Linked DNA regions of Homo sapiens: all the other regions are linked to region 3. Evidence: promoter capture Hi-C in 16 types of primary human blood cells and fetal thymus (Javierre and others, 2016). All regions are on one chromosome and are shown on one strand. Each heading gives the region's core, a stretch centred on a gene start or on the middle of the fragment in contact. The rest is flanking DNA. Distances are from core to core; before and after follow the strand shown. Region 1 overlaps SPTBN1 (spectrin beta, non-erythrocytic 1). Region 2 overlaps SPTBN1 (spectrin beta, non-erythrocytic 1). Region 3 holds the start of PPP4R3B (protein phosphatase 4 regulatory subunit 3B). Region 4 overlaps SPTBN1 (spectrin beta, non-erythrocytic 1).

Region 1 (7,619 bases), core at 4,852-7,351, 1.1 Mb before region 3:
ACAAACAGAGGCTTAATCTTACCTTGCCACATGCTAAGTCATACAGAATCTTAGTGTACAGGTCCACCAAGTATGAGAAGAGGAACAAAACCAAACAAGACCTAATAAAACCCACTCAGAACCACAGAACACTTCAAGCAGCAAGCTCTAGGTGAACTAGCAGAGCATGTGCCTAATCCTGACTCAAAACTAAATGTTGTAGAGGTTCGTGTAGAGGCCTGCTTGGGTTTTAGGTTAATCTTGATACCACTTACTGAGTTCTGTGATTTTTCAGAAAAGCTTAGAAACCCATAGTAAGCTGGATATACTCTGAGCATATGGGAGAAACAGCAGAGGTGGGGAGATGGGGAGCACGCTGACTTGGTGGATCTGGGGTCCATGTGTTGGTTGTGCCACTCACCAGCTGGGGCCCTGGGCAAGGCACTGTATTTCTGTGAACCTCAGCTACCTTGGTTGCAAAATGGTGACCATACCTGCCTCACAGGGTTAGTCACTTGAGAAAATATATGTGGAAGCATTCTGTAAGCTACCAAGTGTGATGGTTCTGGTTATTACGGCCATTCAGTTTAAGTGGAGATTGATGATAACTGGGACTGCAGTTAGAAGTGGGACCTAAGCAGGGTGAACCCAAATCACTAATACATTTAATACTAAACATTCCAGAAGGAATTTTTTATGACCATAGATTCCAAACTGTTTGGTTTATAGACGAAGATTGAGAGGCCCAGAGAACATCAGAAACATGCTCAAGATTACATAGCTCCTTGGTACTCAGAAATTAGGGTAAGCCTGAGTCCCTGACTCTGGACTTGAGTCTTTCCACCAGCCCACAGCACTTTTGATCTGTTCCATCCATATCTTTGAGCCATCTTCCCACTGGCCTTTTCCTACCTATGCCAACTTAGGGCTGAAACCTGTGCACAGAGGACATACTCAGTTGGGCCCTGCCTTGGAACATCTTCCCCTGAGTCTGATAACCCTCATTCACTAGTCTCATCTTCATAGCTTCTTCTTCGTCCTCCTCCTCCTCCTTTCTCGTTATTTTCTAACTCCCTGTAACCCAGCTTTTGCTTTTATTAACCCAGTTGACCTGCTAATTGGCACACCACATGCCTTTTCTCTAAGTTTTATTTTTTAGTTTGTTTGTTTTGCAACACTTAAGACCATCTACCCTCTTTCCTCTTTGAGTCTCTCTCCTTAGATTTTCATTCTGCAACTCCCTGGCATCTCCACTGGTTTTTCTTCTTTCTCCCAAACCCAGGCCTTCCCCAGGGCTCCATGCTTAGCCCCTTGCCTCTTACTTCCTTTCCTAGATTTAACCCCACAACTATCTCAACTCCCACCTCTGCACTCAGGACTGTATCTTCAGTTTTGAGCTCTAGTTCCACATCCCTGACTGCTCCAGACATGTCACCCAGTGGTATTGCAGGTAACTCAGATTCCACCTGTCTAGAAGGAAATGTGCACTTGTCCCCTGCACCCCTCTAGCCAGATGTAAAACCCTGAGAGTCTTCTTTGTCCCTTTCCTTTGATCCTCCCACATACAGTTAGTTACCAAAGTCCTTTGGATTAATTTTTACGTCAGCCCATTCTTTTTCATTTGATTGCTCCTTTGACCTGGACTGTTGCACTAACCACCCAGTTGACCTTGCTGCCTTCATTTCCTCTCCTTTCTGCCCATTCTTACATACCACTTCCAGATTAATCATCTCTAGAGTCCAGCCCACACCCTCTACTCCCCTGGCTCAAAAGTCTCCAGTGGCTCCAGACCAGGCTTAGTTCTAACTTGCTTTTCGGGGCTTTCCTCCCAGCCTGACGGTTCCTTATCCTCCAGCCAAACTGCAGCACTTGCTGGTGCTGTTTCCTGGGCATCCATGCTTTTACTGTGCTGCTTGAGAGGAGGCTTCTCCCTTGTTCCAGCCTGTTGATGTCTACCTGTGTTTCAAGGTTTGATCAAAATGCCAGTCCCTCCTAGAGTTCTTCCCACCTACCTTTCTCCAAAAGGCAGATGTGTCCTCCTTGTCCTCTGAATTCTTAGAGCTGTCCTCCCCTGGCCCTTACTATATTCTTTTGGTACTTTACTGTTTGCACATTTGTCCCATTTCCTTTGGCTAGCAACACTCCTGGTCACTTCTGAATCTTCTAAAACACCTGGCAGTGTGCCTTGCACACATTAAATACTGTAAATACAGAACAGTAAACACTGAAGAAATAAAGAATGAATACCTCTGGCCTTCCTTTACCTCCTCCCCACTTCTGAACTGGAGGTGGTCAGATGGGCCATCAGGGATCTGTCTTATTCTTCCCTGGTCCCATCACACCAAATGGATTCCCATTTCTTACTTCTTATCCCCGTGGGGTTATTAAACCCTTCCCCAGTGTCCAAACCTTTCTAATACTTGCATGTGTTCACTCTGCCTGGTTCATTCAGTGTTGGCTTCACAGGATTGAGTGTGGCTACGTTCGTCCCAGCTCTACTGCCATCATATTATGTGCAACCTGGTTAATTAAAAATTATTTCATGTACTAACCCATACTAGAGGGAGCTGAAAGGGAGATACTGAGTGGTGACTCCCTTTCTTCATTAAGTGGCCCAATGATTAAAACGTTATAAGTTGGCAAAGCACTTTGTAATCTCATTTTCAGTGCCATAGCTGGACACTTAGAGACTTATCATTTCACCAGTATACTTAGTTGTGAAAAAGGGCTTGTTAAAAAGATCTTCATTGAGACGGTTCCCAATTCAACTTCTCTTGTAGTCTTGATGTGGTGTGTGTGTGTGTGTTTGTGTGTGTGGGCGGGGGGTGATGAAAGGAGGGGTGCATTTTGAAGAATATACTCTTAATTTTGAAAGTATGATAATTTTTAGAACATTTCCACATCATCTCCTCAGTGACCCTGTGGAGGTGGGCATTAATTATTACTCAGTCTGACAGCTGAGGTTTAGAAAGAATCCAGGGTTTCTTCTAAGGTCATAGGGTAATTAAGAGGCTTGGCCAGGACTAGCAACTCAGGTCTTGGGAATCCTAGTCAAGTGCTTTTTCCAAGACCAAGTGTTTTGTAATGCTCTGCCTAGCCTCCCATCAGCATTGTGAATTGGCAGCACTTAGGGGCTTTAAAAAATGTTCTACATCTTAGATGATAAGAAATGTTGTCTTCTTCAGGTTGGGCCTGGCTTTCAAAAGCCAAAGGTTGACATGTGGAAGTATTAAAAACCTAGTTATGTGGCTGGAAGGAGTTGGGGGTTGTTCAGCGTTGAGCAGTTAGCTAGGCTCTGGGTTTAATTCTAAGCCTGGACAGGATGCAGTTACTTCAATTACAAGTGCCCTGGGGACTGAGGTGAACCTGGGGTGGGGGACCACGTCTTTACTACATATTGGGATCCCTGAGGAATGAAATTACCTTCTTCAGTGAGTATTGCTGTAGGGCTCCAAACTGGAAATGCCAAAAGTGTAATTTGTTGTCTGCCTGTTTAGGTAGTGAGGAAAAAGGGGGGACAGGAGGGTGGAGAGAGAGGGGGGAGATCTAGAGTCAATTTCCCAAGAATACATTTTGATCATTCTCTTTTCTATGTGGAAGATTTCATTTTTGGTTGAGATTGGTGGGAGAAGAAGCTGGGAAGGAGAGATTTAAAATTTTGGAGAACCACAAGTTTAGAGGCCTTGTTTTACAAATCAGAGTAGGAATTTGAGGGTAGTTTCGGTTCCCTCATCTCCCCTCCGGATCATAAACAACTCCAGGTCAGGGATCTCGGCGGTGTTTACCTGTGTACCTTTTTCCCACAATGCCTTGCAAATCGGTGCTCCCATAAATCTTCCTTGCGTCGAATTCCTATCATAGGCCCGTGTTATTCCAGGAAACCACCGCCTTCATATCCCCTGATGGCAGCGTAAGTCAGCCGAGATTCTTCACTGAGCCCGAACTTACACCTCCCCTGGCTGTGGCGCTGCACAGCGCCCTGAGAGTGACTTTGTCTGACTTCTTCCCGGTGGCTCGCCGGGCCGCCGCCGCGTGGTTGGCGCCAGCGCACTGGGGCAGTCGCGCGCGCCCAGGTGCGGGCCGCGTTACCTCAGCAGACGCTAGAGAGTGAATGAGCCGCGCGGGCCCGGGACCCTTGGGGCTCTTCACTCTCCAGGCCGTCCCGTGGGCGCGCTAGCCTTTTCAAGTGATAGTAATCGGAGACTTTTCCGTTACATGAGGCTCAACAAAAGATTGTAATTCCAGCAGCTCTGTTTGGGAAGGCACTACCGCGGCGAGTCCAGGGCCCGGCCGGGGGTCGGCGGCTGCCGGGCGGCTGGGGCGACCGCGGACCGTGCGGGACCGGTAGGGGGTCGCGGGCCGGCTAGGCTCCCCCGCGCCCCTCCTCGTGGTATAGCCTGCATTTCTAATACAATGCTGTTATGCTAATCAGGTGACATCACCGCCCAGCACACGGCGAGTGGCTCCTGATAAAATTACAAACCGGCGGCCGCCGCGGGCAGCTGGGAGGAGGTGTGCGCGCTGCGCCCGCGAGCTCCCGGGCTCGGCAACCGTGGCATGCTTAGGATTGGCCATATTTAAAAGTTCTGAAGTAGAACCTGCGCCTCCTCTCTGCTTCTCCCTCCTCCTCAGTAATTTATTTCGAGCTTCCAGGCAAGGGCCACGGAAGAAGGGAAAGCAAGAAATTAGATGCCTGTGTGGTAACTCCTCGCGGAGCTAAGGTGGACTCTCTTGCAGCCAACTTCCCATCAGATCACCCTGCTGGACTTGCAGACCGGAATGGGGCTCGCCTAAGGAGCCGAGCGCTGCGGAGGCTGCTGCGTGTTGGATGGGAGTGGGAGGGGGCTGGAGCGAGATTTCCAGGGCGCAGTCCTCCGGGGCGTTACGCCGGGCATAATGGAATTGCAGAGGACGTCTAGTATCTCCGGGCCGCTGTCGCCGGCGTACACGGGGCAGGTGCCTTACAACTACAACCAGCTGGAAGGCAGATTCAAGCAGCTGCAAGGTAAGCCCCCTCCCAAAGGCCGGGCCTGTCCTGGGTGCCAACGGGGGTTCTTGGAGGCTTTATTTGTGACCCTAATGAAGACGGGCGGCTTCACAGCTCGGCCCCAGACCCTGTGGTTGGCTGCGGGCACCCCATTCACGACTTAGGGAAGGCAGTTGCTCATACTCCACTCCAGAAGAGCTACCATTTGGAGTCCCTGTCTCTCCAGCACCTTTTTGGCTTTCTAGGTTGTCAGATAACTGCTGCACACACATTTTCTTTACTTTTAGCTAACTTTACCTCCTAGTAGATCAGTGCTCATAGACTTATTAGTATGCAGGTATTTGATTCCGGGTCGCCTCTGGCTCCCAGCCCCCAGCCTCTTACCTCTGGGAAGCTTTAAAGGTGTAAAGTGCCGTGCTCAGACCCAGTCCTGTAGAACAATAGCAAAGGGGAGGAGGGAGGGGTCTTTTTGTTCCTAAGCCTTTGGTAAATTACAGTTTTTTATTCAGAAGCTTAATTTTAATTTTTCTGATGTGTTGGGAAGAGCCTTCCCATCTATTTAGTGGGCTATATAATTTCTAATGAAAGCCGGTTATTGTCATTTCAACCCTATGGGTTGGATTAGTTGGATCAATTACAGGTTTCTTGGAGTCTTTTTAAGGCTCAGACAATTGAATGAGTCCAATATTTTACTGAACATATTTTTAGGGAGAGCAGAAGCCTGTGTGTGCACCAGTGTGCTGTTTTCCCTGCGGCCCCTGCACCCCTCAGCTGTCCCTGCCCAGCCAGCAGGCCCTGGCCAGCAGTGTCTCAGAGCTTATACATGAAAAAAGGTTCCTAACTGAAAACAGAACTCCTTCCGTTTGGAAGCCCCTGGAGTCAGTAGTAGGCTGGGAATGGCTCTAGCACTGTAAAAAAGTAGTATTCGAGGACTGTGTGTTTCTTATTTTAACCTCCTCAGTGCTGCAAATGTGGTTCCTGTGAGGAGGAGGAAGGAAGGAAGCCGCTCAGCCCTAGAATGTTTTTCATTGGGAAGAGGGGGGAGGATGTCTTTCATTCATTGGTTTATTTGTCTTGTGAAATAGTTGACAGTAATGACACTTCTCTGGAAAACGAGGCAGAACAGGACGTGATTTTAAACATTTGCTGGGCTGTGCCACATTCCTCTGGCAGTTAGCTCAGAGGAAGCTCCCTTCGCTCTGGGGAACGGTTCTGTGTCTCTTTGGTTCATTTCTCTTGAGCTCTTCGGCAGTCAAATTTGCTTTTTTGAAAACTTAAGCTGGGGGCGCTTGCAAGTAGTAAATAGAGGAGTTGGGGTGGGGGGGGGCGTTCATTATCTAGGTTTGTTAGGGGCCTCACGGTTTTCGGGTCGGAGAATCCACTGCGTGCTCCTCCTCTTCCCCTGGCCCGGACTCCCAGCTTCATTGTGTCATCCCGCCTGGGGGAAAGCACCCACCGGGATCGTCAGCCCACTCCACCGCCAGCCTAGCCTGGAAGTCTCAGAAAAAAAGCAAAACTGGGAGAAAATAGAAGGTGTGAGGGAGGAGTGCACCCCTAGGCCCACCCATAACAAAAGGCTGTTATTCCGAAAGGGCTGAGGAAGGTTTTAAAACTGCTCGCCGAGAAGGGTGGAGCCTACACACAGGAAATGTCTTAACTGTCCTCTCTGGACAACGTAAAGTTTAAATTTAAAAAAAATCATGTGCCCCTGATATTTTACCTCATACGCTGTTTCTCAAGGAAATCCCTTCGAAAGGGGTAAGCTTCGTGTTTTGTGTGGTAGCTTTAAAAATAATTTTTTTTAGTGTGACCCTTGTCTCCTAATTTAGCCCCAGTGACTTTCTTATTTTTAAATATTGTGGTTTAGGAGTTGCACAAGTTTAGTGTTGGTATTTCTGTAGCAGAAAACCACCCATGTTGAGGAATTGAGAAAGGGTGAATTAACTTTCAAGTATGGTGGACCTCAGGAGAATTACACACATTTGTCAGCATCCTTCAGAACAAATGAACCGATTGCATTTTAAACAATCCTAGGAGAATTTTGATTAAACACACACACACAAAACCTTTCTTTAATTCCCATCCCTGGTTTTGTGTTTTGTTTGGTATTTGTAGTTCTGATTATCACATATTTTTGATAACATATAATTTCTATCTGCTGATTTAATTTTGTACATTCCTGCAAGGGTGCCTTTTTTTACTCTTCTGAGTATAATCTTTCCTAGCACATAATCTCTGAATATTGGCAAAATGCTCCTCTGAAACTGTATTGGGTTTTTTGTTTTCGTTTTAAGAGACAGAGTCTCACGCTGTTGCCCAGGCTCTAGTGCAGTGGCACAATCACGACTCAACAGCAGCCTTGAAGTCCTGGCTCAAGCCATCCTCCCACCTCAGCCTCCCAAGTAGCTGGGACTATACCATGTCTGGCTAATTTTTAAATTTTTTGTAGAGACAGAGTCTCACCATGTTGCTCAGGCTGGTGTTGAACTCCTGGCCTCAAATGATCCTCCCGCCTTCACTTCCCAAAGTGTTGGGATCACAGATGTGAGCTACCTTGCCAGTCCTGTACTGGGTTTAATGCCTCTGATATGAACTTATTTATGTATTGTCTGTGCCTGATAGTGCTATGATTTTTCTGGAGTTGTTTCTGCAT
Region 2 (7,601 bases), core at 132-2,631, 1.0 Mb before region 3:
CTGGCTGCTGCCCTTAATTGCGTGTACCTGGGTTGCTGCAGCCTGGCCCCCTTTCCCCTGTGAGGTCCGCTCAGCACACACCAAGCCCAGTCTGTCTGCTGGCATTCAGTTCACTGTGCACATAACTCTGTGCTCAGAACTGGACCAAAAACCCCTGAGAATATAGAAGTATAAAGCCTCATCCTTGCTCTTAGGAAGCGAACAGTCTAGTTGGAAGTAATAAGAGCAATAAATGAAACAACAGCAAAATTATAATGATGAGTTCCTGGGCTCTGTGGTCCAGCCTGTTAGTTGTAGAGTTGTGAGGAAAAGAAGAGCTGTGAGAACCAGAATGATTGGAAATGGGAATGTCTCCGGGAAGGAAAGATGGGCCTTGGCCTGAGCCTTGGAAGGTAGGTAGGTGTGATGAGGTGAAGAGATTGGGAAGTCAAGATGATGGGTCACAGGCTGAGTGCGTTCTTCTACATGTGGATGTGTGCATCCTCCTGGCATCTTTATGAGATGGTGACATCAGCTCCAGGTGCAGCCTCTACTAGAGGGGGAGTGATGGGAAATAGGAAGGAGAGAAGGATGGAGCCAGATGGGCGAGGGCATGAGCTTGGTGTTGGTACAACAGATAATAGAAACCCATTTTGTGTGCGTGTGTGTGCATGCGCGCACGAGTGCGCGCATGCACACACACAGTGGATCCTTGAACAAAGCAGGGGGTTTAGGGGCACCAACCCCATGCCGCTGAAAATCTTCCTATGCATTTGATTCCCCCAAAACTTTTAATAGCCTACTGTTGTCTTATCAATAATATAAACAGTCAATTAACATATTTTGCATGTTATGTGTATTACATTACTGTAGTCTTAAAGTAAGCTAGGGAAAAGAAAATGTTAGAAAAGGAAGAGAAAATATATTTGCAGATTCATTAAGTGGAAGTGGATCATCATAAATGTCTTCATCCTTGTCTTCACGTTGAGTAGGCTGAGGAGGAAGGTGGGGGGATTGGTCTTGCCATCTTGGTGTAGTAGAAGTGGAGGAGGTAGAAGGGGAGGCAGAAGAGGCAGGGACACTTGGTGTAACTTTATGGAAATAACACAAGCAGTCTTGAATAATTGGAACCCTTGGAACAAATTCAATTTGTTTTCTGGTACTGCTTTTACATCCTCTTCCGCATCATTTGTCATCTTTTTGGAGACACTCATTTTCATCAAGTCGTCTTCCGTTAATTCTTCTGATGTGGTGTCTGATAGCTCTTGAATTTCTCCAAGATCCGTATCATGAAAACCTTCACCCCTCTACCTTTTTGCCATATCCACAACCTCTTTCATAATTTCCTTCATTGGCTCTGTCATAAATTCTGTGAAGTCCTGTGTAACATCTGGACATCATTTTCTTCAGCAGGAATGTATTGTTTCAGGCTCGATGGCTTTCACAGCTTTTTCTGTAACAATGATGGCATCTTCAGTGGTGTAGTCCTCCCAGATTTTCCTGATGTTCTCTCTGTTGGGGATTCTATTCCATAGCATCAACAAATCTTTCCATAGAGTTTTGTGTAGTAATGAGCGTTACAAGTCCTTATGACCCCTTGATCTAGAGGCTGAATTAGGGATGTTGTGTTTAGGGGCCAGTAGACCATGTCAGTGCCTTCAGTGTTGAACTCATGGGGTTCTGGGTGGGGGCATTATCCAATACCAAAAGAACTTTAAAACGCAGCCTCTTACTGGCAAGGTACTTTGAGACTTCAGGAACCAAAACATCAGTAGAACCAATTCAGAAAACCGGTTGTCATTGTCCAGGCCTTCTTTTTGTACAACCAGAAGACTGGCAGCTGGTATTTATTTTTTCCCTTCAAGGCTCAAAGGTTAGCAGCCTTATGAATAAGGGCAGTCCTGATTATAAACCCAGCTGCATTTGCACAGAACAGTAGAGTTAGCCTATCCCTTTATGCCTTAAGTCCTGGTGCTCACCTCTCTTTCTCTTACTGGGCTTTTGTGAACAGGGCACTTTCGTCTGCATTAAAAACTTGTTGAGGCAAGATACACTTTTCCTTCATTGATTTTCTTAATGGTGCCTGGGAACTCATCTGCTGCCTCTTGGTCAGCAAAAGCTGCTTCTCCCAATTCCTTGACATTTTTTAAGCCAAACCTCTTTCCGAAATTATCAGACTGGGAGCTCTGTGAACCTTTCCTGGTTCTGAGGGCTACCCAATTAAAAATTAATAGTCATGCCATCCTTTGCTGGTGTTACATTCTCCAGCCTTAGATCCTTCACCTTCCTATGCCTTTAAATTGTCATATGATGACTTCATTTTTTCTCAAATCATATTAGTCCTTAGGTATGCCTCTCTTATGGCAATCCTGCACTCACATAAAAGATGCATTTTTAATTAATTCATTATTTATTTATTTATTTTGTAGAGACGGGTTTTTGCCATGTTGTCCAGGCTGGTCTCAAACTCCTGGGCACAAGCAGTCTGCCCGCCTCAGCCTCCCAAAGTGCTGGGATTACAGGCATGAGCTGCTGCACCCAGCCAAACGCTGCATTTTCAATATGAGATAAAAAGATATTTCACAAAAAAGTGCAAGGTCTTTGCATCTGCTGGTGTAGCTTCAGGGATGGCTTCACAAATTTCCTTTTCTTTTTTTAGTCTTCAAATGGTGGGCCACCACAACTGTAGACCTCAATCTACAATACATAGCAAGCAGTTCATCCTTTTCTTGTAATGTCATGACTTCTCTCTGCTTCTTGGGAGTACTTCCAGCATCACTAGTGGCACTTTGGGTCTCATGATATTAGTCAAGGTTTACAGTATTGCACTAGACACTGTGAAAAATACACAAGAACTGTGAGAGATGGCTTTTTACTGTGATACCCAATTTACTAGAGAGACCACGTGGAGATGATTAGCATCATAGGCATTTTAAGTAGGCACTCAACAATACTTGAGCTCATCACAGTAGGAGTTAGAGATGGCTCTGAAATTACTATAGTAGTACAGTACATACCAAGATTTAATACTGCTCAAATGGTGCCATTACAATCTGTGTTTGTGTGTATGAGTTTTGATAATTTTTAATTTTATGACAGATTTGTATATATTTTGCGGTAGTAAATTATAAAATAGACTAACATCTATATATATTTTATGCATTCATGACATACCTTTTTCTTAATTTTTCTGGTATTTCTAGGCTAGGCCATTCATCTGAATCTTTTCAAATTGTCACCAATCTCTAAAAAGTTTTCCAGTTTATTTATTGAAAAATATCCATGTATAAGTGCATTTGAATAGTTCAGGCCCAACTAAAGGTCAACTGTGTATATTTACTATATTTTTATAGTAGATGTGTGTGTGCTTTTACAGGAGACGTATATATACTTCTATAATAGTATATTTTATAGTAGATGTATATATACACATATGCATTATCTACTCTCTCTCTATATATATATTTTTTGTTTGTTTGTTTTATTTAAAATGTTCACCTTCCAAGGGCCTCTTTTACGTTTTGATAAAACTGGGTAGAGGGAAGAAACATTTGGGGTATTTAAATTGCACTACACTCATTTTTTTCCCTTTTCCCCTTCTTTTCAGTAAGTTATACTTCTTTACTTAACCTTCACCCCATCCCTCCACACACAACCACCACTTGGAAATTCTTCTGATTTGATGGTTGTGTTCCCTGTTTTCATTTTGAGCCAAGCTTAAGGGTTGCCAGCAGGTGGCAAACCTAATTTTACATTCCAAGTAATCAGAAAATCCTCACAGGTGTTTTGTCATGCACCTGCAAAAAAAAAAAATTGTATGGATGGCAGCAGTAGCGCTGAAATTCTCCATGAAAATTGGATTCTCTCTTCCCTGAACTTAAACAAATGCTCATTTGTAAACTATATAGCTCCACAACTATTCTCTAAAGAGGAATCAGTTATCATCCCCTTAAGTAAACTTTTTTTCTGTGGCCGTTAGGTAAATACCGTCCTTGGACTTAATGAGTACATGTGTTTGTTAATGTTCTGCTCTGAGCGGGAGAGCATTGCATGAATGGGCACATGTGACTAGGCAGTAACTCGGGGTTCATCTCTACTCTGTTGGGTGATGTGTCTCTACCTCTGCTCTCCTGTTTCTAGCCTAAACCCACCAAGGGACGAATGCGCATCCACTGCTTAGAGAATGTGGACAAGGCCCTTCAGTTCCTGAAGGAGCAGAGAGTCCATCTTGAGAACATGGGGTCCCATGACATCGTGGATGGAAACCACCGGCTGACCCTTGGCCTCATCTGGACCATCATCCTGCGCTTCCAGGTAAGGGTCTCTGCCCAGGGTTGCTCAGAACTTAGGCCGACCTCTCAGGTATGAGCATTGTTATAGAGCTGGCCTCCCTGTATCAGAGGGATCGGGAAGACCAGGTTGAAAGCATGTCTCAGAGTCATGTGTGTCATATCCAGCCCTCAGAATTGAATGCTGCCTCGTAGGCACGTGGAAGCTACTACATCCTCCTGCAATTGTACTAGCCCTGGTAATCTTAGCTTTCCTGTCAGACACATCTCAGCGGCCCAGGGGCTTCTAGGCTGCATCCCAGCCCGCCACTTTGCTGGCACCTGCTCTAAACATCTGGTCTCTGCTGCTTGGCTCTCAGGAGCAAAGGTATAAGGACGTGGCCAATGCTAGGTTATTAGCTTAGACTGCCTCAACTTCACTCAACTATGACATGTGTTACAGAACATTTTTTGGCAAAGCTGTTGAGGGTTATGGCATGTGTGTGGGCTCCATTTTCACCTTCTCATTCTCTTTGGATGTGAGGAAGCAGTTTGCAGGAGGAAAGTACAAAACTCTTGTGTTTCTTTGAATTGATGATGCTTTATGGGTTTTGTTATACTTGAGGAGGAAGGCTCTAAGTATAGAAGTATTTTAAGCCGGAAGGTACTCTCAAGGTCATTTTGTCCACTTCTTTCACTTTATGAAGAAATCGGGGACCCACAGAAATTTGAAACCTTGCCTCTGATGACACAGCCAGCCAGGGCTATAGTGGGTGCCTCTGACCCCTTAAGAGAGAGCGCTCAGCCTTTTGGGACTGTGCACCACCACGAGCCTGATTATTGGTTCTTTCTCCAGGCTCATGCTTCGTACTCATGCGTTCCAATTAAAATTGGAAAGGCAGGAACAACTTTGTACCATAGTGTCAGGTTTCTCTGCGAACAAATATTCTAACAGTCCTGTCTCCTCAGTGACTGTGTTCTCTTGCCATTCCTTCCTGTTCTGCCCCTTTAATAAAGATCTGTTTTGATTTTTCTGGGTAAACAAAAACCTCACACAAAAAGGAAAAACGAAAAATCAAATTATAACTTGCTTTGTTTTCTTATTGAAACTCTGAAATCAGCCTGTCAACAGTCCCTTTTCCTTCTCACTTGCCCTACGATTGGGCTTCAGTTAGTGTCGTGATTATATATGTGGGAAGAAGGGGTAGGGGACTAGAATGAGTTACAGGAAGAAATATCTTCCTGCCTGGCTGGTTCCCAAGCTGGCTGATCATCTGATGCCTTTGGGAAACCCTTTTAATAATTCAGGTTCCCAGGGCCCAGCCCTAGTAGTTCTGATTAAGTAGGTCTGAAGAGAGAACCACTGTTGAAGATGGTACAACATCATTAAAGGAGTTAATTACAGCAATCAAGGACATTTTTCCCCAGATAGAACTCTTACATTTCTGTTATTTAGTTCCTGAATGATTTGAAAATGGAGTAGCCATTGAATCCACTAATTACTGCTCTTGTGTCTTATGGCAACAGAGGTGAAATTATTAGCAGTACACTCCTCTAGCTTCACCCCAGTTTTATGGAGTAAAATGTTGTATTTCTGTTAGCTTTGGCCTGCAATAATCAGAGCGTGGAAGGCCATCCTGACTGTGGGCTATCTTGACAGCGGGTCAGCACCCAGGTCAGGGAGCTGGCACACACAGCCCTTTTCAGGATTCTCAGCGTGAATTGCTTTGAGTCATTGACTAATTCGCTTCCTGCCAGTTTGCATATTCCTATAATTCAACTTGTAAATGCTGATGTGTATTTTCTCCCTTTCTGTTGAGGTGAGAGGCATAGGCTGCTGATGTTACCGCGTGGCCTGCAGTGTTGTTGTCTTAAATGACTCAGCTTTCTCCAGCAGCTTTATTAAAACATTACCTATTCTACAAAAATAATATGATTATGAATCAGCCAAGGCCCAGCTGTAGATATCCAGCATATCTATAAGGATACTCCACATATCCTTGTAGATACATAGGGTCAAGCTTCCCTGTGTACCTACAACGGTCTCTCCTTCCACCAGCTCCTGAATATACGGTTTTACAAGTTCCCAGTGTGTGTGTATGTGTGTGTGTGCGTGCGTGTGCTCTCATTGCTACCAGGATATGGCCTACCCTATATGTGCATAGAAGTGTCCATTAAATACTGATGATGACACAGATTTTATGATGCTGCCCCTTTAAAAGAGAGTATAAGGGCCAGGTGCGGTGGCTCATGCCTGTAATCCCAGCACTTTGGGAGGCCAAGGTGGGTGGATCACTTCAGATCAGGAGTTCGGGACCAACCTGGCCAACATGACGATACCCTGCCTCTACTAAAAATACAAAAATTAGCCAGGTGTGGTGGCAGACACCTATGATCCCAGTTACTTGAGAAGCTGAGGCAGGAGAATCGCTTGAATATGGGAGGCGGAGATTGCAGTGAGCCGAGATCACACCACCGCACTCCAGCCTGGGCGACAGAGACTGTCTCAAAAAAAAAAAAAAGTAAAAGATGGTGAGAAACTGGAGTGGAAGTCTCTAAGTTTGCCTAGTTTAAATAGGGAGCTGTCTTCATTTCAGAAGGGTAGGCTTTGTTTCCATATGGGCAAATCTGGAAACAGATACCCTTCACACAGAAGTATAAGAAAGCCAATGGGTTAATGTGTGTAAAGTTGCAGCCTGACTTTCCTGGTGAGCCTGTCTCTCACCCCTTGAGTGAGGGTTGTTCTTCCACATTCCCTTTCTGCACTTGAGCTAATGATCCTAATATTAGAGACTGGGGTTTATACAGACTCAGGCTTCACCTTCTTAACACAATTAAAAATAGAGAATTTTTTTTTAATGTAGTTGTTTCAATTCCCAGGTGTTTTTCCTAGTTGAAAGTTTCTAACTTTTTAATCCTGTATTTATATATTTTGTCTTCATTTTCTCTGTTTTTCAAAAAGAATTCTGGGAAGTGTTTGTAGATTGAATGGAGTGAAGGTAGTGGGGAGCATGACAGAGCAGCGAAGCTTAAAATGGCTACAGCTGGAGGCAATGGATGGACTCCTGGCCAGCACCATCCACTCCTGACTCCATTCCACATTTTACTCTACAAGAGGAAACTTTCATATAATAGACAAAAGTGTATTTGGAGCATTTGTCTAAAATTACGTAGCTGGCAGTTGGCGCCTAATCTAAAAACTAACATTCACAGACCCTTATTACGAGCTCTGCACTTTATTATATCATTTAAGTGCATAACAGTGCTGTGAGATTAGCCACTGTCATTATTTCCATTCCTCAGATGGGGAAGCTGGGGAACCTGCCCAAGGGTACATGGTAGGTGATGGAGCCT
Region 3 (7,492 bases), core at 877-3,376:
GAGTAGTGATCCTGAAAGATAAAAAATAATACATCATAAGTCTCAAATGATAAAACCCTGAATAAAAATTAGAATACACATTAAAGCCGGGCGCAGTGGCTCACGTCTGTAATCCTAGCACTTTGGGAGGCGGGCAGATCACGAGGTCAAGAGATCCAGACCATTCCAGCCAACATGGTGAAACCGTCTCTACTAAAAATACAAAAATTAGCTGGGCGTGGTGGCGCATGCCTGTAGTCCCAGGTACACGGGAGGGTGGGGCAGGAGAATCGCTTGAGAGAGAGGGAGAGGAGGCAGAGGTTGCAGTAGCCCAGATCGCGCCATTGAACTCCAGCCTGGCAACAGAGCAAGACTCTGTCTCCAAAAAAAAAAAAAAAAAAAAAAAAATACACATTTAAACCCCGCCCCCCGCCCCCGCAAACTTTTCAAGTCTTTTTACCGAGTTGGACATCTTAATAAAATGTATTCGAATTCACATTTTCTCTCCAAATCTAGGCTTCACATTTAATCTAAAATATTTCACCCTATTCCCATACACCCTTAAAGGAAAAATTAATCTAAAACCAACAATCAAACCAAGGAATGAGGAGACTAGATGACTATTAAAATTTTATTGAAATAAAAATTTTAAGGTCTAAATGACCACTTCAAGCCATTCGTTTTAACAAAAGTTGTTTTATTGCATTCCCAGTTTAACAAATAATGCAAATTACAAAACAAAAACATCATGACAGGGATTAAATACTTAGTATAGAAATTACAGTGCTGCATTTATCCTTTCCTCATTAAGAACAAAAGAACACCTTCTGTAGAAGTGATGACTATTTAAAATAAAAGGGAACAAGCAAGAATACAAAATATGTCAAGACTAAACCTAAGATTATTTTTCTAACTGCCTATATCAGTTGTTCAAATCAAGTCCAGATTATACTATAAAAGGCATTTTAATTACGGCTCTACATTTTGTAATTTAAAATACTTCACATGACTACAATAAACCAAAGAACACAGCAGTTTACAACCTGCTTTGGTGTCCCAACTTGCTTAGATTGTAAGGCATTCACTTTCTCATAGCGCCTTCTACAAAGGCAGCCCGAAGAAATGCAGACTACAGATGTATGTGCTTGTGTGTCCATGTATCGTGGCAACAGTCAGCAATACAGCCAGGAAAACGTGCCTTTCGGTTTTCCCCAGCACCTGTCGACTGTGGCACCTGGGGCCCGTTGGTACAATTTTTTTTTTTTAAAAACACTCGGAAAGAAAAGTTTCCCTAAACCGTTTGTACTAGACGTATAATGGATAAGTAAATAAAGGGGGAGGAAGGTGTCAGCTCCTAGGGCGACATCAGTACCTAGTCTCTCACTACTTCCTCCCTTCTCTCTCACACTCTCCCCTCTTCAAAAGAGGAGGGACTGGAAAGGAAGGAGTCCAATCCTTAAGAGAGATGGGAGAAGGACAGAGAGTCTCGGTCTCCGAGGATAAGTCCAGTCAAAAGTACAGTACTTTGTTTTTGCCGTACACAAGAGCCAGTTCAGAACCAACGCGCTGTCCCGAAGGAGTAGCAACGGTAACGGGCCCAGGGCCCTAAACCCAAGCTGTGCCCCAACCAGAGGCACTATCCCCTATTCTACAGTTCCGATAACCTTACCGTCGGACTCTGCCCGAACCAGCAGCGACATCCCCTTGAGCTCCTCCACGTAAGTGGAGGAGACGTGCCCGGTGCCTCGGTCGTCCCATTGCCGGTCTTCGTTCAGGGTATAGACCTTCACTCGCCGCCGCGTATCCGACATGGTGGCTGCTGTCTCCACCGCTCTAGCCGCCGCCTCCTCGCTTACCTCGTCCGCGCTCCTCACTCTTAGGAGACGGTAAAGGCAGTAGTGGCGGTGGCGGCGGCGGCGGCTTCGGAGAGGCCCGAATTCACCATGGCTCCAAAGGTTCAGCCGCGAGAAGGGGTGACAAGAGCCACTGAGGCCTCTCCGCCCGGAGGCCCCGTTACCTCTCACTTCACCCGCGCATACACCCACTCTCCCGTCTCTTTGCCCCCCAGGGCTCGCTTGCTCTCCCGCCGCCGCGGTAACTACTACAGATCCGCCATCTTGTAACCCGACTCTCTCTGCCTTTCTCTTCCTCCTCCAGCAGGCTCGCACGGGCTGTCCTAGCAGGGGCTACGGCGGCCGACAAGTCCCATGAGCAGCACCTCCGCTTCTGCACGCGCTTCCCAGGCCGGAATGCTCGGCGCTCTCGCGAGGAGGGGTACCGACTGGGGCGGGAGTACTTCGGCGAGACTTCCTCCTCTTTCGGCCCGACTTCCTCCTCTTTCGGCCCCGCCTCTTGGCGCGGGGTCGCAATTGGGCGGGAGGTTCTCGCGATCTCCCCGTCCACGCCTGCGCCGCGAGAGGCCGCTAGGTGGAAGGGGACTTCGGTTCCGCACGTCGTCATGTTGTTGGATGGCACCAGTATGTGACGTTCCTAGGAACTTAGCTCTGAGGAAAAAACAAAGCAAACCGGGGAAGTACGTAGCCTTGAACCGGAGTAACCAGGGACAGAAAGGAAGGAAAAGGGTTTCATACCTTCACGGAACGACGCTCACTTCGTCCGCCTGAGGAGGAAAAATAAGTTTAAACCTTTCTGTGAAAAAGAACGTGGAGCCCTTTCTGCCGAATGGAAACCCGCTAAACCCCGTTATGGAGTCTGCTACAATTAAGCATCTAACCAGGAATTGTCTATGGACACAACTCTCCAGGCAATTCATGCAGAAAGTGTGTTGACGATTTCCTGTTTCTTGCAGAGCGCTTCACCGTTAAGGCTCTTAGTAGCTGGCGATTGTAAAGCACATTTTCCGCTTCATGAAAATACAGTGCTCTTCTTGTGTTTGTAACCTTGGAAAGTAAGTCTGCTATGATAAGTTTAGGGAAGTGGCGGGGAGCTACTTTCCTAACATATCTGTGATTGTTTTGATACTTCTCAGTTTCTCGCGGGCATTTCCTGCGTTCTCTATAGGGCTCTCTTGCACTGAATAAGGAAAGGAGGAATTCTCTCTGCATTGAGGCTATTATCGCACATTGTGCGGTGGATATAGTCACGCGCTGGGTCGTAGTAGCGTGTCGTTTATTTCAGTCCAGCTCACTCTTGGTAGAATCCCTTTATTCGTTTTGTTGTTTTTGATAGTCTCTCTCTGCTTCCCAGGCTAGAGTGCAATGGCGCTATCTCGACTCACTGTAGCCTCCGCCTTGAGGGCTCAAGCGATCCTCTCACCTCAGCCTCCCGAGTAGCTGGGACCGTAGACGCCTGCTCCCCATCCCCGCTATATTCGTTCTTTAATACAGTCTCTCAGCTTGTTCAGCTGCCACTTCTGTGCAGCTCATTAGCCTGATCGGTGAAAACTAGGCGAGACGCGCACACTGACCCTGCAGTGCATCTTGGGAGTTGTAGTCATAACTAATCAATGGTCTTGTTAAAACGTGCTTATGTTTTGACCAGATCGCTTAAGTGTGGACACCCTTCAGCAGTACACTACAACGTGGGTCAGTGTACAGAACACATGCTGATAGAAATAATTTCAAAATCTGGATTCATAGTTTTTTTTTTTAATCTAGAGACCTCAGAAAATGTACTTGAAGAAAATCATCATAATATAATACATAACAATAGAGCCAATTAATTGATGTGATGAAAGTGGACAAAATGTATTTTGACCTCAGAGAAAATAACATTTCTGTCTTGGAAGAGTCAGAGAATGCTTCACACAATTTTTGAGCCTGATGTTAGACTCTCCAGCCTTCTGTCCAAGCCTCACCCTTTGGTTACTCCCCAGGAAGACTGAACTTGGGAAGAGGATTGTGCAGACCCTGGAGTCAGGCTTGGCGTTTGGGATAGGGAATACTAGAGTGCCCACAGCATGGTCTGGAAAAGGGAAAGTGGGCTGCAGGTGGCTACAGTCCCATGATTCCATGGATTTCAGACCCCTCCAAAGCACAGGGCTCAGTGCTTATCCAAGTCTGAGGGCCCCCCATAACCACATCTTCCCCAGCAGATGTTCTTTGCTTCAGGCAGTCATCAAAGTTCCACTTCAAAGAGTTGCTAACCAAATAAGCCCACAATCTTCCTTTTTTGTTGTTTTGAATAAGTAATGCCTTTACACATATGAAATTAAAAAGAGAGGCCGGGCATGGTGGCTCACGCCTGTAATCCCAGCACTTTGGGAGGGCGAGGTGGGCAGATTGCCCGAGGTCAGGAGATCCAGACCAGCCAGGCCAACGTGGTGAAACCCTGTCTCTGCTAAAAATACAAAAATCAGCTGGGCGTGGTGGTGGGGGCCTGTAATCCCAGCTACTTGGGAGGCCGAGGTAGGAGAATCGCTTCAACCTGGGAGGCAGAGGTTGCAGTGAGCCAAGATTGCACCACTGCACTCCAGCCTGGGGGACAGTGTGACAGACTGTCTCAAAAAAAAAAAAAAAAAAAAAGGCAAAGATATATAGTGAAAACTAAGTCTTCTTTTAGTCTTTGTCTCCTGCCACTCATAGAATTTTCCTCTTGGAATCACCTCTATTCCATTTTCCTGTGTATGTTGCCAGAGCAGGGCTGGCTTCATGGTGGTGACCTGTACAGATAGGCACTTGGTTTAATGTTTTGCTGTCACTAACTTGAAATTCAGGAAAGTTTCTGGACAAGGGCCCTGCGGTTTTATTTTGCACTGGGCCCACAAAGTATGTATCTAGTCCTATTCCAGAGATATTCTATGCATATACAGGTAATTATATGTAGATATGTATGTAGTGGTCCAGTAGTGGTCCAGGGCCTGTTAGGAACTGGGCGGCACAGCAGAAGGTGAGTGGCAGGGGAGCCAGCATTTCGGCCTGAGCTCTGCCCCCTGTCAGATGAGCAGGGGCATTACATTCTGGTAGGAGTGAGAACCCTATTGTAAACTGCACATGCAAGGGATCTAACCTGTGCACTCCTTATGAGAATCCAACTCCCCCTTTCCATGGAAAAATTGTCTTCCACAAAACCAGTCCCTGGTGTCAAAAAGGTTGGGGACCTCTGTAGTAGGCTACCATCTAGGTTTGTTTAGGTACACTCTATGATGTTCACACAACAAAAAATCACCTGATGATGCATTTTTCAGAAAGCATCCCCATTGTTAAGGGACACATGACTGTAATGGAATACTATTCTTTTCCTTCCTTTTTATTTTTTGTGGAGACAGGGTCTCTACATGTTGGTGCCCAGGCTGGTCTCACACTCCTGAGCTTAAGGGATCTGCCTGCTTTGACCTCCCAAAGTGCTGGGATTACAAGTGTGAGCCACCATATCTGAACCCCTGTCCCCCACTTTTTTTTTCTTTCTTTTTTTCCATACACAGTCCAGGCTGGAGTGCAGAGGTGTCATCTCGGCTCACTGCAACCTCCGTCTCCCGGATTCTAACGATTCTCCTGCCTCATCCTCCTGAGTAGCTGGGATTATAGGTGTCCGCCACCACGCCCAGCTAATTTTTGTATTTTTAGTAGAGATGGGGTTTCACCATGTTGGTGAGGCTGGTCTCAAACTCTTGACCTCATGTGATCCACCTGCCTCAGCCTCCCAAAATACTGGGATTACAGGGGTGAGCCACCGTGCCCAGGACAGCCTTTTTTGGGTCAGTGTGTATATAGAGCTAACTCATTCTACTTAATGGCTACATAGTATCCCACTGTGATAGCCGCAAAAGGCAGACAAATCCTAGGCAGACAGGGGCAGGTCCCTGGTGAAACCCTTCAAGCTGAGGACAGTTTAAAGGCTAGCCACAAGACCAGGATAAATCCACAGACCAGATTGAGAACCTCTCTTCCCATTTGGCGTGCTTTCTTCTGATTGATCCCCACCCTTCACCTATTTTACACATATCCTTTCCTAATTGTTTTTTTACACTGTTGTACCTACCTTTGAGTGGTGCTGTTGTTTTAGCCTTTTTTGCATACTCACAAACCAATCAGCATGCACGCCTTCATTCTGAGCCCATAAAAGCTGTGGACTCAGCCGCACTGAGAGAGAGACCACCTGACTTTGAGTGAGGGACCACCCTTGCATCCTCTCTCTCCTGAGAGCTGTTTCATAGTTCAAATAAAACTCTTCTCCACCCTCCTCACCCTTTGATTGTCAGCGTAACCTCATTCTTGGACGCTGAAGAAAAATTCGGGACCCACCAAACGCAGATACAAAGAAGGCTGTACACACTGTGGCCCTTTGCCCTCTGCTGGTGGAGGGCAACCGTCCCACACAACGCGATGGGAAGCAGCAGTGGGGCAGAGCCAGTCCTGAAGCCACGGGCCTGAGTGGGGCAATGGGACTGATAGAGCTGTTAACATGCCACTGTCCGTTGGCCTGCAGACGGCAGAACTAAAAGAGTGCTTAGCATACTGTAACACCTCTGGGGCTTCAGGGTCATGAGCACCCCTGTTTGGGTGCCACCACATTTCCCTCAATGTGACACACCTGGTCCAGCCACAAGCCCCGCACAGAGCCCACTCCTGCCCTGTACTCGTTCACTCACACACCCCCTCCTGCCAGGGGCTGAGGCCATGGTGGCTGCAGGATTCGTGCCTGAGCACAAGCCAGACACATCCTGGTGGGCCGAGTAGTTGGGGTGTTGCTGGCCGGAGGTCTCCAGCTGTCAAAGTGGCCAAGAAAAATCCTGCATCAACTGTACAAATGTACCCTAATTTATTTAACTCATTTATTGTATATTTGTGTCATTTCCAATGGTTCGTAATTTCAAACATATGATTGTGCAAAAGTTGTTTTATGTGTGCCAATATCTTTGTAGGTTAATTTCCTAGAGCAAAGTTTTTCAACCTAAGCACCACTGACATCTGGGGCTGGATAATTTGTTGTGAGGGGCTGTCATGTGCGTTATACGATGTATCCTATCCACCCCTATATGTTATGAAAAATATTTCAGTGGCCAGAATCCTTTCAATGACTTAAAAAGCCCTTTTCATCCTGCTTCTGCCTACCTCTCCAGCTGCATCTTAGTACCCGCACACTCTTTTTTCATACTCATGCCCCTGCTTGCTGTCTTTGCACAGGTATTCTCTTTGTCTGGAGCTTTCTTCCTCACCAATCATCTCCTAATAACTCCCATTTTATCTTTTAAATGTTGCCACTATTATCACTTCCTTGGAGGAGCCTTCTTGGACTGCCTATTTCAAATCCCCTGGGTTTTTTTTTTTTCTTTGACAAAAGCCACATTCGAACAAATCCCCCTTGGAATGTTACAATTACCAAAAAATCCAATTTAAACTAGTTTAAATGATAAGAGAATTTATTGGCTCACATAAATGAGAAGTCTGAAGATAAGGTGAACCTCAGGTTGATTTGAGTGACTTAACAGTATCAGCAGGAACTTGATTTCCTTCTACCTCTCAATTTTCTTTCTGATGTCAGATTCATCCTAAGGCTTACTCCTTTTGTATCATAAAATGGTGGCCAGGATCTCCCAAGGTTATGTAGTTCT
Region 4 (6,867 bases), core at 1,537-4,036, 1.0 Mb before region 3:
CAACTTCCTTAGCCCTAGCTGCGCAGAAAGCATCCTCCCCTCAGAGTGATGATTTTTATCATGTGGTTTCCTTCCTCCTGCCTTTGGAGGTCAGGTCTTCTCACCCAGGGTCAGAAAGCCCATCAGTTGCTGATAAGCTGCAGCACTTGAGTCACAGGGTGCAGGCCTGTGTTTAGAATGGGTCATGCTCATGTCAGGCACGTGGGGAATCAGTGATCCCATGAGAGCTCGATCAGTGCAGTCTGGTTTGGAATTGCAGGTCACACCCTTCCACCACTTTGCTCATGTGTCTACTGATGCCTGTGATGTAGTTAGTTAAACCACTGACTTCTTTCTCCTGCATCAAACATGACTTTTTGAAAAAGTGTGTGGGGGCTTTCCAGCATGAACCAGGCATAAACCAGGTACCTTCATGAACATATTATTTATCCCTTCAGTCACCCTGTGTGCTAGGTGGTATCATAACTGCTTTGTGGATTGAGGAACCTGAGGACCAGAAAGATGACTTGAGGTGGCAGCCTCATTTAGCCAGCAAGTAAGAAAATGGGTGATGGTGAACTTCTGCAGCAAGAGGGGGCCGTTTTCAACATTTCTGTGAATTCAAGGCGTGTGCTTCGTCTAAATAGGTGGAGACACGTAGGAAGGCATAGTGTATACATCCATCAGCACATGGGTAGATTTTGAGGTTTTTTTTGTTTTGTTTTAAATCCAGAGCGTTGTGTATTTGATCATTCTTGGAGATTCAGCCACATTCACAGGTGTTAAGTGTCACACCTAACCTAGCAATACAATACACAGCTGAAAGAAACCAGTCAGGTTTTCCCAATATCAATTTCTTTTTATTTTCTTTTCTGCAACTCCAGAGGATTCAATAATGTCAATTTCTGATAAAGCTTTTGCTATTGATGAGTAAATTCTTCCATTAAAAAGATAACAGTCTGCTAATTTGCTTATCATTGATGTTGCAAGAGCGTAACATTGGAGGGATGAGTAATGCATCTGCATATCTCGAAGGACAAAACTGACGTCCACCCACTTGTGGATACGGTATTTGGTAAAAGTAACTAAGGTAAAATTGCCTAAGGGCATTTAACTTGAGCCATAGCTTAAATTCAGGTGATATTGAGCGTTGACATATCAGGATTCTTTTGTACACAGAGACGTGGATGTAGACCCACTGGTAGCAATTGCAAAGGCTCTGGATTTTTAGCTGCTGGATGAAATACCTGCAGCTGAACATCTGTTATGATGCAATTAAGCAGTGACTCAGTGGCGTGAAGGCTCAGTTTCGATGTATCGGGAACTCCTTTGAATCTGTCCACAAACTTCTCAACCAAAAGGAGAGGAGAAATGTGTACAGACATTTGAGAGGCTGGGTCTCAACATGCCTCTGCCTAGGCAGTCATGGGAACCTGGTCTTTTCTCCTGAGACAGGAATTAACCTGTAGTACGAGAAACATGGTTGGATGAGTGGTTAAAGCAGGGCCCAGACTTTGGTACAGTTTAGGTTATGGTAGCAGGGATAGGGAGAGAGGTGGATGATGGTAATGGTCTGTGTTTTTTTCCTTTTGTCACTCAGATCCAGCTTTTTTTTTTTTTTTTTGAGAGACAGTCTGGCTGTGTCTCCCAGGCTGGAGTGCAATGGTGCGATCTCGGCTCACTGCAACCTCTGCCTCCTGGGTTCAAGCGTTTCTCCTGCCTCAGCCTCCCCAGTAGCTGGGATTACGGGTGCCTGCCACCACTCCCGGCTAATGTTTGTATTTTAGTAGAGACAGGGTTTTACCATGTTGGCCAGGCTAGTCTTAAACTCCTAACCTCAGGTGATCCACCCACCTCGGCCTCCCAAAGTGTTGGGATTACAGGTGTGAGCCACCGCGCCCGGCCTTCAGCTCTTCTTTCTGCTATTGCTTTGGCCTAATTAATAACTTAAAGCTGGAACGTTGATGTCAGGTATGTGTAGGTCCAGGAAAACAGCTGTTGGCTCTGTTACTTCAATTTTTTTTTTACTCTATACTTTGAAGAAGTAGTACTTTCTAGAACTTGTACTCAAAACTCAACTGACAAATCCTGGAAGGCCGTTGCTTATACGCTCTAGTTGATGCGCCACAGCTGCCTGGCTGTGAGAATGGAGTAGCATGTACCTCTTAATTAGCCAAGAATAAGTGCCGTGGAAGAAGGCAGGATGACTTTTTAGAACCCATTTTTAGCTTGAAGATCACTGAGGGAGCCATCAAATCCATCCACCTGTTCAATCAATATTCAGCCAGCAAGTGGGTGTCAAGGTGAGCAGCTTACAGTGCTGAGCACACTGGAAACACAGGTGTGTAAGGGACAGCCACGGTCTCAAATTACATTCTGAAAGGGAATACTAGGTAAGTGATCCCAAACATGCAAATATCATTCCTTGGTCCTGGGATGTGGGGGAAGCATTTTGGAGGAATTGACATTGATTGCAAGTTTTTAAATATGACCTGGATTAGATTATGAGATGATGGGTGCTTGGGGGTAGGGGTGTACAGAGGGAGTCATGAAACCATGGAGGATGTTGGGGAATGGCTAGAATTCTACTTGGGACATCATGCAAGTTTTTTTTCCCCTTCCATTTCATTTGTTAATGCTTATTATTAGTTGGGGGTTTTGCCTCCTTTTTGTTAGCCAACAGCCAGCTAATCTTGGCACAGGTCCCGGGAATCAGGTGCTGCTTAGCAGCTGATGTTGGTTAAATGACCTTGGACAAGTGACTTGCATTTCAGTTCTCTAACCTGTTAGGGTTGTAGATTGTCTGATACAGATTTGAAGGCCCCTGCAAATAAATGCATGGCCGTTTACTCTGGTCACTTTCATTTTACCGAATGTGCTCCCCCAAGGCTCTTCTGGGTAGATGCCCACTGCCAAAACATTAAGCATTTTTGGCTTCTCATGCTTTGAGCTCACAAAATCAGTCCTGTGGGAAACCTAACAAGCTACAAAGGAGAGGGAAAGCAAAAGAAAAGGTATATGGATTCTCATGCAAAGAGAGAAGGAAAGTAGGTCCCTACCTAAAGTCTAGCCCTGTATTGGTGGTGGTACTGATAATGGTAATAGCCACCAAAACTTCTTGATACTCCCCTTGTGCAGGCATTGTCCTAAGTACTTTGCAGTATTGATTCATATGCTCCTCATAGCGTCCTTGTGTGATGTGTTATTTCCATTTTGAAGATGAGGAAACTGAGGCACAAAGGAAGCTGTGCCCAAGGACACTTAACTAGTAAATGGAGCCAGGATTCCAACCCACGCAGTGCGCTTTGGGACTCAATTTTTAACCATCTTGCTGTGCTGCCTGTTGAGCATTTTTCACCTGGTGCTTTTGTAGATCCCACATTAGGATTTTGTTAGGACCCTGGGCAACCTTGATTTAGTGAAAGCAGTTGTTGAGAGGTAGAAATTCCTGATCCTTTTTTCAATCTTAAAGGATTTGCTGAGACTCTCACTCTTCATTGGTGATGGTAACAAGGAGCAGCATGGTGAATGCCATGTAAAATTCAAGCCTTGCCTTATCTTGGAGGACTTTATTCCCTTTTCTTTGATGGTACTTTGGAGATTCCAGACTATAAAGGACTCAGCTGACAGTACAGACTCTCTTGATCTGTATTTTCCCAGTATATGAAATTATTTGTAATGTACCCGTGAGAACCTGGAATAAACTGTACTGGCACTGAAGTAGAATCTTGGATTTAAAAGTACAGTGTTCACTGCTGCATCGTTGAGCATTTGCTACACAGAGAATAACCTTGGAGCAATGTTCAAAGGTGATGGCATTACCCAGAAACATGGAGTTAGGCCAGGAAACCACATCTGAAGTTCAGATTATTGGAGATTGCTGATTTTTCTTGACTTTAAATATTTTCGACTGGTTGAGTGTTTGTTGGTGTTTTTGGGCTAAGTGTTAGCCTTTTGTTCTGTGATGTCCCTGTGTGAATAAAATGGATAATCCCTGTTTCCGGTTAGCTGCTGCTGCTGCTGCTGCTGCCAAGTATAAGTGAAGACTTCCAGCTGCGATTTGCATTGTGTTTTCAGGCCACCTTTTGAGTTTCCCCATAGCAGATATAAAAACTGTTTCTAAGAGTTCATCCTTACGTGTTCAGCCTTACTTGTATCCTAAAACCACAAACTTGATTTTGTTCCCATTCATTATGATCTATATTTGGCATCAGTGAGGCAAGTTATTTATATTTATTATTTATACCCTGCCCACTTCCAGAAATGATTTAATTTGGCCTAGGCAAGTGTCTTCTGATGGGGTGTGTGTGTGTGTGTGTGTGTGTGTGTGATGATAATTCTGATGTGTGTGTGTATGATGCTACTTCTGCCACTTCAAGAGTCCAGAATCATAAGATTCCTAATAGGATTGTTGGGTTGGTGAATGCTGGGTTTGTTCTCTTCTATGCCCTCTCTGTCCAGGAGAAATCTGAGTATCTTTCTTAGGAATGCCTAACACTGCTAGACTGAAAGGTGCCATGTCACCATTTTTCCCAAGAAATTTTCTTTTGAGGGTGCTATAGAGAAGCCCTCTGGTATGAATGTATTAGGCTGGTGCAAAAGTAATTGTGGCTTTTGCAATTAAAAGTAATGACAAAACTACAATTACTTCTGCACCAACCTAATATATATTATATATTCCCATTTTGTTCTTTTCAGAATAAAGCTTCCTAGGAGTTTCTCTAGCTCATGACCTCTTTTACCTTTACTTTCAGTTGCAGTGTTCTTAGCTCATAGAAGGAGCTTTGACGGCACATAGAATGAAGTATAACAGCTTCCGTTTGACCTGAGGCATCCCTCAGGTATGAGAATGTCACCCAGAGATCGAATACAGTGCCAGGTTATCAACTACCATTTTTTGGGACTGATTCTCTGCTCATGTGTGACCATTATTTGGGGAAATCATACAGTACCACAAACCAGAAGTTTCTGAAAACACCTAAACTCCCCATCTTTCACACTCACCCATAGGGACCGTGGCCCCCAATGAGGGGTAGTTCGTCTCTGTATTGGTAGCATTAGCGCACGTGCTATATAGCTCTCTTAATACCTGAACTGTGGACAGACCAGATCCTCACTGAGCTGAAGCACATTGGCATATTAAGGGAGCCCAGCATTGCTGTTTGGCCCTGCTTTTGAACTGGGAAGATATATTGCTGCATGGAGTTCTGAAAAGTACCTTTGTAAGTCCCGAGAACTCCTGTTGACCTTTGGATTTAGGTAAAATGTAAGTCTTAGGAGAATTGATGAGAATGTAGGAACCAGTTTTAGCCAATGCATTAAGACTAAAATGACTCTATTGTTTGTCAGGCTTTGCCAGAAAGTATAGTGAGAGAGAGAGATCCTAAAACTCTGAAAGCAAATAGCCCACAGCAGTTAACTGTATTGACTTTGGAAACAGGTTATAAACCCAAACCTCTGTGCTGAACTTGAATGGGTGTTTCTTCTCTCCTTTCTGAGGGTAAAAGCTGCTGGTGAGAACGGCTCTCTGGTGTTGCTAGGACAGACCTGTATGACCTTCTTTATGTAAATAATTAACAGGGGAATATTTTCATTTACGTTAAAGCCATATATGAGAGAGATTTCCGGGCTGGCTCTGACAGCCTCTGGCCCCACTGGAGAAGGAAGCCAGCACTGAAAAAATTCAAGCTTCCGGCCACACGGAACCTGAGAATATTCTCTATGACAGCAGTGGCTGTGAAGCTGTTTCTTTAAAGTAAAACCCCTTTTGAAGGTTAGTCTGGGGTGACTTTACTGTTACATAGGGAGTAGATTTTGTTTCTTGATGGTTCGTTGAGTGGTAGAGAGGTTAAAGGTAGAACTAACATATGTAGAACTAAAAAGCATCTGAAACTTTTAGCAAACCAGTAATATTTAGAGGCTTCTGCCCACTCTGGGTAGGCATTTTTATCTTGTATACCCATACCAGCTTTTCACATCCTGTTTCTTGAGAATACATAAAGAGCACATTTCTCCACATTATCAGGAAAACAATTTGAAGCACAGGTCTTGTGAATTGGGAAGACCACTAGTATTGCCATTAGCTGCTTATTTGTGTGTGTGTTGGAGGATGGATTATAATCCAAGTGTATTCATATTCTCACACTTTAACCAAAAAAAAAAAAAAATCTCCAAAATCTTCTCTCTTGCATTGTTTATTGATAGAATGGGAAACTTACTGCTGGTAACTAGTTAATTCTGAAAGGGTTAGGGTTTCTACTGTATACTTCCAAAAGTACAGGCCTGGGGGAGCCAATATGAGAGACACACATAACCAAAAATTTGTAAAAACTTTATTTTTTAATAAAAATTATAAATAAAAATTATAGGCCGGGTGCACTAGCTCATCCCTGTAATTCCAGCATTTTGGGAGGCTGAGGCGGACTGATCACTTGAGGTCAGGAGTTTGAAACCAGCCTGGGCAACATGTTGAAACCCTGTCTCTACTAAAAATACAAAAATTAGCCATGCATAGTGGCACACACGTGTAATCCCAGCTACTTGGGTGGCTGAGGCACGAGAGTCGCTTGAGTCCGGGTGGTGGAGGTTGCAGTGAGCCACGATCACGCCACTGCACTCCAGCCTGGGCAAAAGAGCAAGACTTAGTCTTAAAAAAAAAGAAAAAATATATAAATATATACACACACACTTTATATATTTTTATATATAATCTCATACAACATGTTTTGAAATACACGTGCATTGTGGAATGGCTATATTGAAAGCTAATACATAACAAATTTAATGATAATACAAGTGTAGAATGGACAACAAAGGGGTTGTGCATAATCATCAAGTACTTCTCATTAGTAAAAACCCTTTTCATTTGCTTAGAATTGAGGAGGAGGG

What was found. The method cuts DNA at HindIII sites, captures the fragments that hold promoters and counts their contacts. A CHiCAGO score of 5 or more calls a contact.
Region 1: a fragment that was not itself captured here is called in contact with the fragment with the promoter of PPP4R3B in region 3 in 4 of 17 cell types (neutrophils, total CD8 T cells, activated CD4 T cells and 1 more); the score reaches 7.4 in neutrophils.
Region 2: a contact is called between a fragment that was not itself captured here and the fragment with the promoter of PPP4R3B in region 3, in 1 of 17 cell types (total CD4 T cells). The highest score is 5.3, in total CD4 T cells.
Region 4: a fragment that was not itself captured here is called in contact with the fragment with the promoter of PPP4R3B in region 3 in 1 of 17 cell types (total CD8 T cells); the score reaches 5.6 in total CD8 T cells.

The regions. Positions count from the first base shown.
Region 1 is chr2:54,553,904-54,561,522 of GRCh38, forward strand. All of the region lies in intron 2 of SPTBN1 (spectrin beta, non-erythrocytic 1), which reads left to right. It overlaps SPTBN1-AS1 (SPTBN1 antisense RNA 1), which reads right to left and starts at 4,802. Exons shown (of 4, transcript NR_185881.1): 1 at 3,765-4,802. RefSeq lists a silencer at 4,200-4,339 and an enhancer at 6,341-6,510. The HindIII fragment of the contact is 1,251 bases long and covers 5,477-6,727 here.
Region 2 is chr2:54,608,042-54,615,642 of GRCh38, forward strand. It overlaps SPTBN1 (spectrin beta, non-erythrocytic 1), which reads left to right. Exons shown (of 36, transcript NM_003128.3): 4 at 4,120-4,293. Among named protein-coding and RNA genes, the nearest start is that of SPTBN1-AS1, 53 kb to the left of the region's middle. The HindIII fragment of the contact is 4,624 bases long and covers 1-3,693 here.
Region 3 is chr2:55,615,496-55,622,987 of GRCh38, forward strand. It overlaps PPP4R3B (protein phosphatase 4 regulatory subunit 3B), which reads right to left and starts at 2,127. Exons shown (of 17, transcript NM_001122964.3): 1 at 1,649-2,127; 2 at 1-11. The coding sequence starts at 1,790. PPP4R3B-DT (PPP4R3B divergent transcript) reads left to right here and starts at 2,435. Exons shown (of 3, transcript NR_186624.1): 1 at 2,435-2,887. RefSeq lists enhancers at 1,083-2,009, 2,010-2,934, 2,028-2,427, 2,448-2,497 and a silencer at 4,943-4,992. The HindIII fragment of the contact is 10,945 bases long and covers 1-7,492 here.
Region 4 is chr2:54,574,470-54,581,336 of GRCh38, forward strand. All of the region lies in intron 2 of SPTBN1 (spectrin beta, non-erythrocytic 1), which reads left to right. Among named protein-coding and RNA genes, the nearest start is that of SPTBN1-AS1, 19 kb to the left of the region's middle. RefSeq lists silencers at 29-188, 259-318 and enhancers at 4,722-4,771, 5,771-5,820. The HindIII fragment of the contact is 3,791 bases long and covers 892-4,682 here.